3 separate regions of the Homo sapiens genome follow, and all the other regions are linked to region 1. Evidence: promoter capture Hi-C in human tissues and cell types (Jung and others, 2019). All regions are on one chromosome and are shown on one strand. Each heading gives the region's core, a stretch centred on a gene start or on the middle of the fragment in contact. The rest is flanking DNA. Distances are from core to core; before and after follow the strand shown.

What was found. The method cuts DNA at HindIII sites, captures the fragments that hold promoters and counts their contacts. A contact is called where the count stands out against the background at its distance.
Region 2: a fragment that was not itself captured here is called in contact with the fragment with the promoter of KCTD15 in region 1 in 1 of the 25 tissues and cell types used here (aorta).
Region 3: a contact is called between a fragment that was not itself captured here and the fragment with the promoter of KCTD15 in region 1, in 1 of the 25 tissues and cell types used here (lymphoblastoid cells).

Annotation. Positions count from the first base shown.
Region 1 is chr19:33,795,110-33,798,718 of GRCh38, reverse strand. KCTD15 (potassium channel tetramerization domain containing 15) reads right to left here and starts at 1,849. Exons shown (of 7, transcript NM_001129994.2): 1 at 1,732-1,849; 2 at 1-51. RefSeq lists a silencer at 3,151-3,270. The HindIII fragment of the contact is 17,228 bases long and covers 307-3,609 here.
Region 2 is chr19:34,222,055-34,225,663 of GRCh38, reverse strand. The region is part of intron 9 of LSM14A (LSM14A mRNA processing body assembly factor); the gene reads right to left. Among named protein-coding and RNA genes, the nearest start is that of GARRE1, 31 kb to the left of the region's middle. RefSeq lists an enhancer at 325-890. The HindIII fragment of the contact is 6,610 bases long and covers 1-3,609 here.
Region 3 is chr19:34,064,113-34,067,721 of GRCh38, reverse strand. No RefSeq gene overlaps it. Among named protein-coding and RNA genes, the nearest start is that of LSM14A, 110 kb to the left of the region's middle. The HindIII fragment of the contact is 4,946 bases long and covers 1-3,609 here.

The sequences.
Region 1 (3,609 bases), core at 600-3,099:
TCCCAACAAGCGCATCCGTGCGGGACCACGACCCTCTTTCCGAGACCACTGCTTAAGTCAGAAGCACAAAAGTGGGTGCAGTGAGAGATACAAGTTCATTCCACCAGCACCAGCATCAAACCCAGCACCCAGCCCCAGTGCGCCCTGGCCCGCCTGTTGCAGGGGCCTCAGCGATAGCGGTCGGGAGGGCCCACAGGTTTCCAAACTGGCCCGGTAGTGACCCGCTTCTCCAGCTGCGGCGGGAGACCCGGGTCCCTGCCCGCCCGCCGCCGAGCCCCGCCCGCCCGAGCAGAGAGAAGTGAGCAGAATGCCACGCTCATTTACACACAAAATGATTTTGTGTCCCATTGCGCTCGCAGTTGTTCGGCTCTCTGGGGGTGATTAAACTGGCTGAGCTGCGGCAGCTTGAGACGATTTCACTAAATCGCTTCTTCTGAAGTCGCTTCTTTGCTAAGCTGTTATTTTAACCATAAAAGGTAAACAGAAGGCGCCTCTCGAGCTCCCCTCGGCTCCGCACTCAGGGCGCTGGCCCGGGGCGAAAGTCCTGGGGGCCTGCACAATTGTCCCAGGGGTGGCCCCGGAGAGGCAGGCGGGCCACCTGGTGCGCGCCAGCCTCCCCACCCCCCCCCTCCCGCCTCCGCCGCGGAGCCAGCCGGCCGGTGTGAACTTAGGGGCGACGGGAGAGGGCTTGGGCCAAGGCTGGAGGCGCCGCGGGGCGGGGTGGCCGCGGCACCCGAAGCGCGGGGCTGGGCTGGGAGGGGTTGCCGCGGAGGCGGGGCGGGGACAAAGTTAAATCAAGAGGCAGACACTTGGAGACCACAGATGGGAAGCTCGCCTAATTAAGGACGTAAAAGCGCTTTTGTTCTCAAAGTTTATTGTTGCCGGGATTAAAAAAAAATTAATTGAAACTAATGCTGTTATTCACTCGTGCAGTTAAATTCCTTCATGCACATTTGAGATACGGAGCGAAAACTTGAAGCTTATCTTTCTGCAGTCGCGGGTGGGGGCCGCCGGAAGACAGAAAGGCGCTGCAGAGGCGGGGGTCCGCCCCCGGGTGTGTTTGCGAGTGTGTGCCGGGTGCGCGCGTCCAGGTCAGGGGGTGCGGGCGGGCAGCGGGGAACCGGATCTGCAGGCGGCGATCCCTCCCATCGCGGCCCCTCTCCCAGCCCCAAACCCTGCGCGCCCGGGACCACCACCAGCGCGACAGCCCCTCCTGCCAGGTTTCGGACTCGTGGGGTGGGCGTCAGAGGACGCACATCTGTCCCACTGGAGACTTTCTCTGATTTTGGGCGCCAAGCCGGGACTTGTGCATCCCGAAGCCCCAGTTGCGTGAGCCCGTTTCTGACCCCGGAAACTCGCCAGCTCTGCAGGGCGCTCGGCCCAGAACAGGGGCCAGAGTGCGGGGACCTCCACAAGCGCGCGCGCGCGCGCGCGCACACACACACACACACACACACACACACACACACACCGCGCGGCAGGAAGCTCCGAGACCGCCCGCGTGGGGAGGGTCCACCCGCGGCCAGGACCAGCCCACGTGGGCAACCCCACTCTTGCACCAGGCCTTTGTGCTGGGCACCCCCGCGCCGCCAGCCCCCGCCGCCCAGCAGAGGGACAAAGCGGCCGCCCCCGCCCAGGTCCAGACCCTGGCCGGGCGACTTTCTCGGTATCGCAGCCACTTCGGGGCAGGGTTGCGCGGCTCTGAGCGGTGGCCGCCCGCGCTGAGCTTACCTCGGAGCCGGCAGATCGGGCTCGGGCGCAGCCCCCGCCCCACGCAGCTGCCGGTCTCGGGCGCCGGGCGCAGCTTCGCCGCCTATGCTCGCTGCGCGGGTCGCTCCGGTCTCGTCCTGGAGTTACTTTCTCTCTCGCCCCCAACCCTCCCCCCACCCACCCCTCCCGCCCCGGCCCCCGCTTCACGCGGCCCCTCGCGGCGCGGCGCGCCGGGGCCTCCCCTCCCCACCCTCCCCTCGCCTCCTCCCCTCTTCGCGGCCGCCGCCTCCGCCGCCGCCGCCTCCTCCTCGCGCCGCTCTCCGGCTGCCCTCCCGCCGCTCCCACCTCCTCTCCTCCCTCCTCTCTCTCCGGCGGCCTCCCTCGATTGCTGGAGAGAAAACCAGCCCCCCACTCCAGCCCCTAGCCAGCGCCTCGCCGCGGCCCAGCCCGGACGTAAAGGGCAGCGATCCGGCCCCAAATTACCCAGCGCGAACGGGCGCGCGCGGCGACTCCTGGCTCGGGGCTCGGCTGCGCCGCGGGGCAGAGGATTAGAGTCGCAATTAGCTCCGCGCGCCCGCGCCTGGCGACAAAAACGCGCCGTTTCCCCTCCTTTCGCCGGGCGATCCCCACCCGCCTCTCCCGAAGCCCGCGCCTTCCCGCCGGGGCCGCGGCCAGGACCCTCCCGGGAGCGGTGCGCCCAGGCCCCAGCGCCCTCCGCGGCCCAGCCCCCCGCCCCCCGCCGGCCGGCCACGCGGCGCCCGGGCCTCCTCCGGGCTCGGGGAGGGGGCGGGGGAGAGGCTGATTTTAATCATTGTCATTTCATCTGATGTAATATTTCCCCGGGCGCTTTCAGCTGGGCATAAATTTTCGGCTCCCAAATAAGTAACACAGGGCACGTTTCTCACATTTCTTGACTCCTCGGTTACAAAGAGGAGAGCAGCCGCCGCCGCGGCGCCCGGGGCTGGGGGCGGGACTTGGGAAGAAACTGGGCTGCCAGTCGGTCGGGGCTGGAGCGGAGCCGGGGGCCAGGCCGCCCCTCCCCCGCTCCCTGGCCGCCCTCCCAGGGTCTCTGCCCCGCTGCCCCTCTCCCGTGACGTCTGCGGACACGCGGTCGGCCGCCGCGGGGGAGGGACGCGCTGGGGCACCGGGCCGACCGCTCGCGGCTAGACGCGCCATTTCCTTTACGCGCGCGGCGCGATGGAGACGGCGGCAGCCAAGACTCCCCGCGGCCGAGGTCCGCGCCCCGGACGCCCCTCCCCAGTCTCCGCTTCGGCCGCCCCTTCCTCCTTTTCTCCCACTCCCACTCCTCCTCCCCTTCCTCTTCCTCCTGTTTCCTTTGCGCCCCGCCCGTGCCTCCTCCTCCTCCTCGGCGACCATTTCCCGGCTCCTAGGAAACGGAGCGCGCGACTGGCCGGCACTGCGCCCCCGCCTGGCTCCAGGGACGCCCGGGCCGGAGACCGGCTGGGACCGCGGGGCGGGTGCGCACGGGCCGGAACGGCGCCTGGGTCCCGACCGCCGGCTCCGGCCGGGCCTGGACGCCCCCTAGCGGCCGCACTCCCGGGGTGGGGGGCGCTCGGGGTCGGCCTGGAGCTGGGGTGAGGGGGACTCGGGGTGCCAGTGGGAGGAAGGTGAAGTGGGGGGGGCTTTCTCCCTCTACTAGAGGACCTCGCGCGCGTGGAGAGAGCGTCCAGACAGCGCTTCCGTAACTTCTTTACGCGGGAATCAGCCGAAACTTTCCTCCTAAGGGAAGGTTTTATTTATTTATTTATTTTCGAGTTCGAACTACAGGAAAAAGGGGGAAATTTTCTCATTAAAGTTACATCCCTGCAGTTAGTTCAATTATTTGATATATGCAGAAGATGTTGTAAATTTATAGATTTAAATAGCTTACAAAGATGC
Region 2 (3,609 bases), core at 311-2,810, 430 kb before region 1:
CATCTAATGTGAGTGTGGTAGCGTAGAGATTCTAGTTTGGCTGATTCTTTTAAGGATTCTAAAACTTTATGATTTTATCTTTACCCATGTTTTCATTAAACAACCAAGCTCATTTATGCTTACCCCCAAACCACAATGACTCATGCTAATATAGCACAAAAAATAAAGCCAACTCATTTCATGAAGGCTGCAGAAATGTCATCCATGTCCATCTCTGGGAGGAAGTGTTAGATGTTTCAGATACAAGTTTAATCTTCAGTGGTAAATCTCCTTTATGTGACAGTGATCACTCACCATTTTCTACCTTTAAAGGTGCCAGGTGAAATGATTTTATGATTTAGGAGGTGTAGGGCTGCTGGGTTCGGGGCTCTAGTGGCAGATGAAAGGATTATTCAACTCTGGAATGAACAATCAAAGGCTAGCTACATTGACAGACCTTTGGTCTCACTGAAGGCTGGAGTGGCAAATTCCTAATCAACATGACAAGCAATTACTTCAAGCCCACTATGGCTCCATGTTGAGCTGAGTGTTGTCATGGAAAGAAAAGTAGAATACATATTCACTAAAGCCAAGAGGTTCTCATCTAGCTGGTGATGCAGAACAAAACTAAATACAAAAAATAGGGAATGTCAGTGTATTTAAAATGTGTGCCAAAGAAAGCAGATAGCCACAGGTCAGAAGAGGAGGAAATCAGTGTAGGAAGGAAGAGAAGACAGAGCAAAACTTGGGCAAGGCTGTAAAGGATAAGTGAAAGGGGGGACCTGACTTTTAGCTATGTCTGTCTCCCACCAAAATGTAAACATCAAAAGGGCTGGGCCTACATCGGTCAGCACCAATGCTCAACATAGTGCCTGGCATATCTGAAGAATTCTGTATATTTGGTAAATGAATGGGGATGGAGTTGGAATCAAGCACAATGTGTATGTGAGATAACCATGAGGCAGCTTGCTTGAATCAGATAGGTTAAAGGGTAATGAGGAATGAGGCCAAATATATCAAGTGGGATCCTCACACAATTAAGAAGAGCAGGGACTACAATGTCACAACTGAGCCTCCTAAACACTGGGCCATGCCTGAGGGTTCGCTGAGTCCATCACTCCTGGCAACACCTAAGCAGAGGCTGGACTATCTGTCAAGGATACAGGAGCGTAGACAAAGATGCATGGAGGTAACTATGACAATGCATTTTCAATTCTGCAATATATGTGATACGAGTTTTACAAAAGGCTCAAAATGATAAACAGTGTGACATGGTGTCAAAAAAATGTTTGTATTAGTAACCACATGGAGCACACACAGTTACTGCATGGAAGGTTTGTTTTTTCCTTTTTTTGAGACGGAGTCTTGCTCTGTCGCCCAGGCTGGAGTACAGTGGCGTGATCTCGGCTCACTGCAACCTCTGCCTCCCAGGTTCAATGATTCTCCTGCCTCAGCCTCCCGAGTAGCTGGGATTACAGGTGTGTGCCACCACGCCCGGCTAATTTTTTTTATGTTTTTGGTAGAGACGGGGTTTCACCATGTTAGCCAGGCTGGTCTCGAACTCCTGACCTCAGGTGATCCGCCCACCTCAGCCTCCCAAAGTGCTGGGATTATAGGTGTGAGCCACCACGCCCAGCTGAGATTGTAACAGTTAGAACATCCCTGGGGTGGGATGGATGCCCTTGGGAAGAGTAAGCTCCCAGCCCCTATAAGAGATACTGCAGAAGAGGTTTATGTTTTAACCAGGTCAGACCTCTCAGATGTTTTCCAACTCTGAAAGTTTAATGATCTTTAAAAGGTGTTATTTCAGAATAAATGGTGCAACTCTTTATTCACAAATGTCAAAACCAAGGGTCTGAAAGGTCATACTAGTAACTACTGCTATTATTCTCATCTGGATCCAAGTCTAATTTAAATGTACTTTTTCTCAGACCAAGCTGACTCAATGTGGTCTTCAACAAGGAGTTGTCACAGGTTGTTCAAAATGTAGCTGATCTGCCTTAAAGTGGGGTAAAGAGAGACGAAGGTCTGAAGCCCAACTGGTGGGTTACCATGGTAGTTGACAGGGACATCTCAAAGGAATAAATGGCAACAGGCCACAATCATGGATACCTCTAGTGCCTGGGCAGTATACCATGAGCCAACATGGAACACTGGGAGGAGGCAGAGCTGAGATGACAGGAGAGAAGGAAGATGATGAGATCAGTCTGAGGAAGGTTAAGCTGACAGCAAACAGTGCAGATAGAGATGCGGTGCAGAAACACATAGGGTCCAGGACAGGCTTACAAAAGGGAGGATGGAACAAGCACCATGGCACACCTATAAACCCAGCACTTTGGGAAGCTGAGGTGAGAGGATCGCTTAAGCCCAGGAGTTCAAGACCAGCCTGGACAACATAGTGAGAGTGGGACCCAGTGTCTACAAAAAAAATTAAAAATTAGCTGGGCATGGTGGTGCATGCCTGTAGTCCCAGCTACATAGGAGGCTGAGGTGGGAGGACTGCCTGAGCCTGGGAGGTTGAGGCTGCAGTGACTTATGATCATGCCATTGCACTCCAGTCTGGGTGACACAGCAAGACCCTGACACCCTCCACCCCCCAAAAAAAAGAATGAAGAGTATTAAAAAATTAGGAAGAGTATAAATTGAAAACCTAGAAGAGTATTTTAAAGACTAGGAAGAAAGACCCCAAATTGGGTGGTTGGTCAGTGTCAAATATTGCAGAGGAGTTAATGGCAAATAAAATATTTGTGAAAATACTACTGCTGAATTCTGTAAGCAAGGTGTCACTGGCAAACTTAAGGGCAGTAACAGTGATAAGCGAGGGCTATTCTGGAGTTCCTAAGACAGATTCTCCTAGCTGGGAAGGTGATTTTGCAAGTCAGAAGTCCCGCAACTACATAAGGCCACCAACGGCTGGATGGCATAAGCTGGTGACTTGAGTATAATTTTTGGCAGTCTTGGCTGTGATGGCACAATATCAAAAGCATTAAAATTAATAGAGCAGGTCCAAAAGCCACTAATACTGATCTCTTTCCAGAGAGATCTCAACAATGGCCAGTTTTAAGTACTGGGCAATGGAACTCCTGCTAACAGGTCTTTCTGTTTCCAGCTGCCTGTTGCTATTACAAGTGGAACTCTTTACAAGATTTTGGTCCTTTCTGTTATAGCCCTTCCTCTCCACTACTTCTAAAATCAATAAACTAAGATAGTTTACTGTTAACTGAGATAGTTACTATGCTGACTTAATTTACAGACACCTGTCAAAAGCTACATTATACACATAAGGCTACTATACAGAGTTACAGAATTCTCTAGCAGTAGCTCCTGAAGGCCAATATATCGAAACATTTTCAATTTCATGGTGAAAGGAGAAAACCAGGGAAAATGTAGTGAATTTTCAACAAAACCAAATTAAGAGTACTGACTCAGGAAACAACTTGCTGGGCTCAACACCCAGCACCATCACTTACTAGCTATGTGACCTTTCGCAAGTTACTTAATATCTCTATACCCATTTCCTCACTTGTAAAATGGGGATAATAATAGAACCTACCTCACAGAGTTGATGTGCAGTTTAAATAAGTTAATATGTAAAAAAATATTTAAAACAATGTCTTGTTACTTGGTAAA
Region 3 (3,609 bases), core at 341-2,840, 270 kb before region 1:
TCTGATAAGTGGTTTTGCAGTGACATCTCTGTACAGAATCTGTGCAAGCGTTTTTCTCAGGGAGATACCGGGATAAAGAATAGCGAGGCCAGAAGGTGTTCTAATCTTCAGGTTTACTCGGCATTGCCGGATCATCCTCTGATGTAATTATGAGAATTTATGCTACCATGTCTTGAAGTAGTGGGGTTTGTTCCAAGGGTGGTGGGAGGCCATTGCAGGGCTTCTGTGGGAGAATGATGATGTGATCTGATTATAAAAAGGATGCCGGGCGCAGTGACTCATGCCTGTAATCCGAGCACTTTAGGCTCTGAGGCGGGTGCATCACCTGAGGTTAGCAGTTTGAGACCAGCCTGGCCAACACGGTGAAACCCCGTCTCTACTAAAAATACAAAAATTAGCCGGGCGTGGTGGTGCACACCTGTAATCCCAGCTACCCAGGAGGCTGAGGCAGGATAATTGCTTGAACCCTGGAGACAGAGGTTCCAGTGAGCCAGATCGCGCCACTGTACTCCAACCTGGATGACAGAGTGAGACTCCATCTCAAAAACAAAACAAAACAAAACAAAACAAAAAAACACAGAAAAAGAAAAAACTCTGGCTGCTTTCTCGGAACCCCGGGGTGGTAAGTAGGGAGCAGGTGACGGTCATGAAGCTATTGTAGAGATCCAGGTGAGAGACAGTCGTGCCTGGAAGGGGATGATCTTTGTGGAGATGGTGATACATGGTGGGATTCAGGATTCGCTTTGAAGGTAGAGGTCATAGAGCTTGTTGATGAATTGGAGATGGGCTGTGATGGATGGCTCCCAGTGTTAAGTCTCATCAGTGAACGGGGAAGACTGGAGAAGTGGATTGGGAGCATCGAGCATTGTTTTAATCATATGGAATTTGAAATACCTATTAGGCATTATATTAGTCCATTTTGTGTTGCTATAAAGGAACATCTGAGACTAGGTAATTGATAAAGTGGTTTCTTGGGCTCACAGTTCTGCAGGCTGTACAAGCATGGCACAGCGTCTGCTTGGCTTCTGGTGGGGCCTCAGGAAGCTTCATGGTGGAAGAGAAGGGGAAGCATATGTGTCACATGGCAAGAGAGGGAGCAAGAGAGAGGGGAGGAGGCGCCAGGCTCCTTTAAACAATCAGCTCAATCCATTGGCACCTGCGTGTCTGCACATCAATGTGAACTAATAGAGTGAGAACTCACTCATTACAGCAAGGATAGGACCAAGCCATTTATGAGGGATCCACCCCCGCGACCCAAGCACCTCCCACCCAGCCCCACCTCCAACATGAGGGATCACATTTCAATATGAGGTTTGGAGGAGACACACATCCAAACCATATCACACATGCAAATGAAAATGCAGCATCCGTGGCTTGCTAAGCATGTGTGGAGCTCAGGGTGCCAGGAGGGGCTGGACAGATACATGCGCGGTACTCAGAGTAGAGGTGGCATGTAAAGCCACAGGTCCGGATGAAATCCGCCAGGTATTGGGGGATGACAAGAGGTCTTCAGACTGAGCCCTGGGGGAGCTCCAACAGTTAGAAGCCGCGAAGGGGAAGAGGATTCAGCAAGGAAAACAGAGAGGTAGAGGTCCTTGAAAACGGAAATAAAACCAGGTGAGTATGGTGAGCCAGCAGCCGCAGGGAGACAGTATTTTAAGAAGAAAGGAAAAATCACTGCATCAAATGTTCTGATAGACGGGATTGAGCTCTGAGGATAGACCCAAATCATCTAAACTCTTTGGTTACTTTTTATTTTTGATTTTCCTTATGTTGACACCTTAATTGTCGTCTCCTGCATCTGCTAATATTCTTGAGGTGGGGGAGGGAGTCAAAACCCATCCCTCCACTGCCATCCATTCTAAGTGTATCATTAGACCTAGAATGAAAAAGGTTAAGGAATTAAAAAGTGCTGGGGGCTTTGTATCTGTTGGTAGCCATTTAACCTACCCCATCGTGGCATCCTGGTGTCAAGCAGCTGTGTATATTTTTAAAAAAGCCCATCTGAATGCTCCAGAGGGCCTTTTATATCATGAGTGAGAACTGCCTGCAAGATCCTGATTGGCCCAGTTCCACAAAGAGGGCTCCAATAGGTTTTAAAACCTTCTGTCTCATTTCTTTGTGCATTTGTTATTAGCTCAATAAATAATAAATAGAGGAATTACCCAGTCACTAATTTGCTTTTTTATCAAGTAGAATTCATGTTTTAATAAATTGTCATTTTGTCTTATTGCACATGTGCCATAATATGCCTGTAATTCAAACATAAAACTATTTTTACTATAGTATTTGTTTCTTTACCCATACATATGTTCTTCAGCTATGGTTTCTGCGAGGATGTTTGTTCATTTATTGCTTTTCTTGTTCCATTCTAGTGATATGTTTGCTTTCTTCTGGAATTATTGCACTTAAAAAATTAATATTTATGTATTTTTCTCTGATCACAAGAGTAATAAACGATGCCCTTTTAAGATTCCTAAATTTACTTCCTTTTTTTTTTTTTTTATGAGTAATGTTCTTTTTGCCACTGTCATGTTTTTGGATAATGTTGTCTTTTGAATGACTACCTACATTTTGAAGAAGTGTTGAGTTGAGCCATATGAAATTGCTGATACTTGGCAATTTTTGACTACAGAAATGGTGATTTCAAATAGTTCAACCTCTTGTTTCCTTTAGTAATAATTCTACAACTTACTTATTTGCCCCCATCCCCCCTTTTCTTTTCTTTCTTTTTTTTTTTTTTTTGAGACAGGGTCTCACTGCATCACCCAGGCTAGAGTGCAGTGGTACGATCTTGGCTCACTGTAACCTCTGTCTCCTGGGCTCAAGCGATACTCTCACCTCAGCCTCCTGGGTAGCTGTGACTACAGGTTCTCGCCACCATAGCCAGCTAATTTTGTTTAATTTTTGTGGAGATGGAGTCTCACTATGTTGCTCAGGCTGGTCTTGAACTCCTATGCTCAAGCAATCCTCTTACCTCAGCTCCCAAAGTGCTGGGATTACAAGCATGAGCCACTGCGCCTGGCCCAGCTACATAATTTTTAGGGCCTACTATAAAATGAAAATGCGGGTCCTCTTGTTTAAAAGTTGTTAAGAATTTTAAGACGGACAACAGAGCCCTTTGAAGTGCCAGGCTGTGTGTGACCGTGCAGGTCACGCGTCCATGAAGCTGTTTCCAAGGTCAGGAATTGCAGACCTCGGAAGCCCTCACACTAAGGATGTGATGGACCTGCGTTCAATTCAGGGCTGCAGACCCCCAGGGCCGACTTGTCTAGCCACTCTGCAGCACTGTTGTAATCTCCTGACTGATCTCTCTGGTCTTGCTCTTCTCCATCCAATCAAGAGTGATATTTTTGTTTTTATTGTTTATTTATTTATTATATTTTTTTTCTTTGAGATGGAGTCTCTCTGTCTGTAACCTAGGCTGGAGTGTGGTGGCACAATCTTGGCTCACTGCAACCTCCACCTCCTGGATTCAAGTGATTCTCCTGCCTCAGCCTCTTGAGTAGCTGGGACTACTGGAGCATGCCAACACGCCTGGCTAATTTTTTTATATATTTAGTAAAGATGGGGTTTCACCATATTGGCCAGGCTGGTCTCAAACTCCCG